Regions from separate parts of the Homo sapiens genome. Here region 1 is linked to region 2. The links are contacts of gene promoters, found by promoter capture Hi-C in blood cells and fetal thymus (Javierre and others, 2016). All regions are on one chromosome and are shown on one strand. The core of a region is centred on a gene start or on the middle of the fragment in contact, and the rest is flanking DNA. Distances in the headings are between cores, read along the strand shown. Region 1 overlaps ATXN7 (ataxin 7). Region 2 holds the start of NGLY1 (N-glycanase 1).

What was found. The method cuts DNA at HindIII sites, captures the fragments that hold promoters and counts their contacts. A CHiCAGO score of 5 or more calls a contact.
Region 1: a fragment that was not itself captured here is called in contact with the fragment with the promoter of NGLY1 in region 2 in 1 of 17 cell types (naive CD4 T cells); the score reaches 6.1 in naive CD4 T cells.

The regions. Positions count from the first base shown.
Region 1 is chr3:63,965,390-63,968,154 of GRCh38, reverse strand. The region is part of intron 5 of ATXN7 (ataxin 7); the gene reads right to left. Among named protein-coding and RNA genes, the nearest start is that of PSMD6-AS2, 37 kb to the left of the region's middle. The HindIII fragment of the contact is 847 bases long and covers 916-1,762 here.
Region 2 is chr3:25,782,057-25,784,812 of GRCh38, reverse strand. It overlaps NGLY1 (N-glycanase 1), which reads left to right and starts at 1,370. Exons shown (of 12, transcript NM_018297.4): 1 at 1,370-1,553. The coding sequence starts at 1,423. RefSeq lists a silencer at 1,181-1,420 and enhancers at 1,731-1,780, 1,941-2,020. The HindIII fragment of the contact is 11,918 bases long and covers 1-2,756 here.

The DNA of each region.
Region 1 (2,765 bases), core at 90-2,589, about 38 Mb before region 2:
CTCCTGGCCTGCTGGCAAGGCAAGACAAATGCCAGGAGGAAAAAGGCCTGCATAAACTCTTCCCAAATCTGCTTGGTTCTATGTAAGGTTAGCAAAGACCTACCCCACCGTCCACAGGCTCATCCAGAGCTGGGCCCTGAGCCAAGCCCAGACTCTGAAAACTGCCTCAGAAAACTTACCCAGTGGAGCTTTCAGCTCCTGCGCAGAAGGGCTGCTTTGGAGAGGCGTCTTGCTACCTTCCATTCACAGAATTTGGTTGTGCTTCATTGCACACTTGCTACTGCAGGCTTGCATCATGATTTGGGTCTGCCCACCAACTCCAAATATGCTCCATGTTTGGGCTTATGTAACATTTGCTACTACTGTAAAAAGCACTTGAATTACAAAGGTCCTGGCAGATCAACAGAAAACAGGGGGTGGAGTCTAATTTCATCTAATATGGTCATACAAGGCGTCCTGGCTGGTGTAAATTAATCTTTCTATTGGAAAGGCAACTTGTCAAAACTGGGGAAGATGGAATTTATAAGTTTAACCTGCTAAAATGCAAATTACTTATATTTTGTGAATTTTTTTTCTGAATACCTTTAAACTGACAAAGCTACTACCAGGTATATTACAAAACTTACATGATTTATTTAAAAACCTACATTTTAAGTCTCGGTAGACCTAAAGGTCTTAAAGTTAAACATTTCTATAAAATACCTGCAGCATTTTTCCAGGTTTTATTTCCCCTATACTATCTACAGTTGCTAAGCTTTTCAAAAAAAGTTTATTATTCCTAAGCATACTTTTCCTTCCTAAATCTAGTAACAAAATATCTGAACCCACTTTCTGTGCATATTTGTAAAATATGTATAATTTCATATCCACATTTGTCCAGTTTGTTGTTCAATCACTAGAGGACTGACTAAAGCTTTCATACTTTTAAATCCAAGAATTTCTCTCACTGAGTGCCCCCTTGAAAACAGTGTCTTCCTGGCCTGTTTCCCTATCATCCCTATCACACTCCCTCTCTCTGGCCAATCAACAAATCTACTGTCAAATGACACAGAATGGGGTGTAATGGCTCACACCTGTAATCCCAACTACCTGGGAGGGTGAGGCAAGAGTCCAGGAGTTTGAGGCTGCAGTAAGCTATGACTGTGCCACCGCACTCCAGCCCAGGTGACAGAGTTCTAATAAAAACAAAACAACAACAAAAAATCCCCACAAGTGACATGGAAAAAACTGCCAAGTGATCTGAGTTTTATGATAATAATGACTTAGATACCTGATAGTTCAAAATGAACTCTTTTAAATGTCAAAAGAAGCAGCAAAAGATTCTTCTACAGAATCCTATCACCCCATACAGAATATTTGGCAAAAGTCATGAATTACATATGTGGAAATGATTTAGCCTGAAAGGTGCGGGGAAGAGTTCTGAGAGAGGCATGAAAACGGCTTCTATTAGACCAAATTCTAAATTGACTCTAAAACAGAAGAACAGTAGCTGCACTGCCCTATTTTCACAAGGATTCAGATCCCAACCCATGTCAACAATACTAAGACCCAGGGGGTTTTCTGAAACCCACTTTTTTTCCCCCAGATTCCTTACAGTAACGTTCATACAATCCAAAACTATGGAAGCCCTTAGAAGACACTAGAAGAACGCAAGGGAAGAGCCATCAGCAAGCCTTAGAAGCACAGGATGAGGATACATCTCCCAAATCTTTTTAAAAGCTCATAAGCGAAAATAAGAATTTTAAGTTAATTCACTGAAGCTTTTCTTAAGCTAGAAAAAAAAAATTCCATGGCTGTAAAACCTGATTGCCACAGGTCTTAGTATTGTTCACCCTACTTCACCTGCCCTCCCTGCAGGGGTAGCCAAGGAATCTCCTTAATGCCATCAATAGCAGAAAAGAACAGGGTAGGAGGATCTTTCTGGAGCTAAATCTCACTTCCCTATCACTGTACTTGTATGACAGAACACCAGAGTCCTTGCTGGCCTTCCTAGCACAAATGCTTGCCTTTCTAATATTCCCTTTCGTACACAGTGATTGTACGAAATACAGTGGGGAAAAATATCGTTATGAGAGTCAGCCAATCCAAGACAGTTCTAAGAATCAAGTCGTTCTGCAACCCTGTAAAAAACCAGGGTGAATTTTAGCAAATGTTCTTAAATGCTACAAACAAACGTCTATATTTAAGTTCACAAATAAACAAGAGAAAAACGAATTTTAACTTATTTTTAAGACCTACATCAGAAAAGGGATGAATGGTCGTGTATGCCAGGAAAATATTAATTTTGTACACATACACAGAAATTGAGAACAAAGCTCAGATTAAAATTTTAAACACTCACATGTGCCCCCTTAATGCCCTGAATAAAATGTTTAAGCAAATACTGCTTTGTTCTGCTTGTAAAGCATTATCACAATTTTCTTCAAACCGTTTCTCGATATCCTATCCAAATAAAGTTTATTTTGATATTAAATATCCCAATGATGGCTCAGACGTTAATTGTCTAGGTCTGGGGACATGGTCATATTTCTTTTTCCCTAAGAAAAAAATTAAGACTACAGACTAAAAAAATACTACAGACTAAAATAACATCTTAATAGAATAACATCCGTGCCTCACTGACCGAAAATTATATGTATCAGCTGTGGTTTGGATGGTGTACACATGTCAATTTTACTCTAGTGCACAAAGGGAGTTCTGAACTGTGCATTAGCCTATTCGCAGCAAACAGGCAAACTTGCAGGAGGCTAGGAGGAACACTCAAG
Region 2 (2,756 bases), core at 121-2,620:
ATCTGTTGAACACACCATACTTGGAAGGTGGTCCAAAGATTTACATATTTATTAAAAGCGTACGTATATTTGGGAGACGAATAGTCATTGAACTGGATGTCATAGCTTAGGGTCTTGTTCGGAGATTCTGGAAGAAAATTTCAATTCTTAAAAGTAAACAGATGAAACATCAAGAAATTTAAAAGAGGTTATTCAGGCAAATCACTTATCTTAAGAAATAAAGTCAAGAAAAATACTTCGTGAGGTTGAAAAGGAATTTCTGCAAAGAAGGAAGCCACTGGTAAAGTACACTTTCAAGAACATGGTGGGGAAGAGACTGGATTAAAGTAGTAAGGGATGCATCTTCTAAGAGGAATAAAAGACCTTGATCACATGATCTACCTAAAAAACAAGTCACAAAATATTACTTACCCTTACTGTGTGGGATGCAAATTTTTATTCCCTTCCCGCCCCCGACATTCTATAATATTGCGTAATTATTATGCATGTGTTTTACGCTGGTCACCACGCGGTAAACCGAATCCACAACCCATTATTATGTCGCAACCTATGGTTTAAAAATACACTTCCTTACAGAGGAATCATATACTAGTTGAGCTGGAACTTAGATTTTCAGTCATTAGCCAAATTCTGAAAAGAATCCATATAACAAACCCAGCAGAGTTTATAGCCATGGTTTTGTTTTTGACGTTTGTTGCTCCTTCCTTCTGTAGTCTTTCATCCACATCTATGTAGAACGTCCTGACAATCTGCGAAGAGAAGGCTCTAAGGTGGTTTTATTTGTGGGGAAAGGAGGGAGGTACATGCGGTTTCTCCACCTTAATAGCTGGATCAATTAGGCTGGCCCCGGAGCGCAAAGGGATCCGGGTTTCTGAGAGGCACGTGCCAGCACCATTCGCCCGATACCTCTAGACCAAAGCCGGCCTCCCCTCCAGCCGAGCTCCTCCGTCCTAAAGGACTCGACATCCCCCTCCTCCAGGCCCACACCCCTCAGCCCCGGAGCCCAGGCCCCGCCTCTCCCTGCGGAACCCCTTCCCAACCTGTACGACCAGGCCCCAACTCTGGGTCGAAGCACCTCGCCCCTGCCGGCCGAGGCCCCCCACCTTCTTCCGAACAGCCCCTTGCCCCCCGCGAAGGGGCAGCCGTAGCTCCCAGCCGAGCTCCCCCGCTCCTGGCCCCGGTCCCCGACCCCGCCCCAGGCCCCCGACCCCGCCCCTGCCGGCCGAAGACCCCGCCCCTGCCGGCCGAGGACCCCGCCCCTGCCGGCCGAGGACCCCGCCCCTGCCGGCCGAGGACCCCGCCCCTGCCGGCCGAGGACCCCGCCCCTGCCGGTGGCTGCGGTAGCTGCTGCGCGCTGAGGCGCCTGCTCAGTGTGGGACGCGGAGAGCGAGGGGCGGCGGCGGCGCCCGCTGGCGCTCAAGCATGGCGGCGGCGGCATTGGGCAGCTCCTCAGGCTCGGCGTCCCCGGCCGTGGCTGAGCTCTGCCAGAACACCCCGGAGACCTTTTTGGAGGCCTCCAAGCTGCTGCTCACCTATGCTGACAACATCCTCAGGTGCAGGGCAACGGGGTCGGACGGCGGGTACCGGGGTGGGTGGGCCGCGGCACCTTGTTCGGCCAGGGACTGGGGCGTCCGGCCTGAGCTTCAGAGGGCAGCGACGCCCGGACAGACCGGGACCTGGAGCTGGTTCTGCTCCTAACGTCCGAGCCCGCCGGCCAGGGGCCTCGGGACCCGGCCAAGTCCCACCCCCGCTCGAGAAAAGGAAGTTTCTTTGCAGTTGTGACTTGGCACCTGCAGTCAGGGTGCTGCGGGTGAACTGGAGTCCCGGAAGCGGGGCCGGGCGGAGGAGAGGTAGGAAGGCGTGCTTCAGACACTGCCGCTCTTCTCGTCGTTTAACGGCCTCAGATATCGGGACACAACGGTAACCGCACCGCGCGTGTCATTCCCCCTGCGTGCATTTTTCGAGCGGAGTGGCTTACATTTCCACATACTTATCAGAAGTTACTCACTGACAAAGTGATGTTTTCTTCCCATGTTGAGACTATCCGAGTACTAAAGCATAATGCTTCTGAAGTGGTGGGTTTTAAAATTTTTAATTTTTTTTCTGCCCACTTTTGTTGATTGAAACATTATAGTATTTTGAAGTTACAGTTTTTATATTAATACCTGGATTCTACTATGTAACATAACCCTTTAAGAATTCGTGGAGGTAATCGCCTTGGATGAGAGTAATTTCCTTCATTCTCCTGTCAGCAAAATTGCACTTCTAGAGGTCTAAGGGACCTTGCAGATTTTGGGAATTGGGAGGCAAGTTTGATTATTCATTTTGAATAAGTACCCACCTCAACTCTTCAGATCAAATGATCTGAAGGGACATGGTGTGGGGGGGTAGGGAAATGGAACTGAGGTTAAAGGAGAGCCACTTGCTTTAGGGGTGTTACCTCATTTATCAGGTCACCGTGATTAATTAGGTTCTCTGTTCCCCTCAGCCCCTGGTGCATTAAGTGTTTGGTATATTGTCATGAAGTCTAAAAGGAAATTCTCAGTTTCAAGGTTATAGGTTTCACGTGACCCAATTTTAGACATTAGTTACATGTGCAGTTTTTAAAATCCATGTCAGTAATATTTCATTTAGGCAATGGTAATGATTTTTAAAGTAAATTGAAGGGAAAATATATTGAGCCCTTATTTTGTGGCAGATGCTATGAAAGATGCAACATGTGGCCTGTTCACAGCTACATAATTGTGACCTGTGTG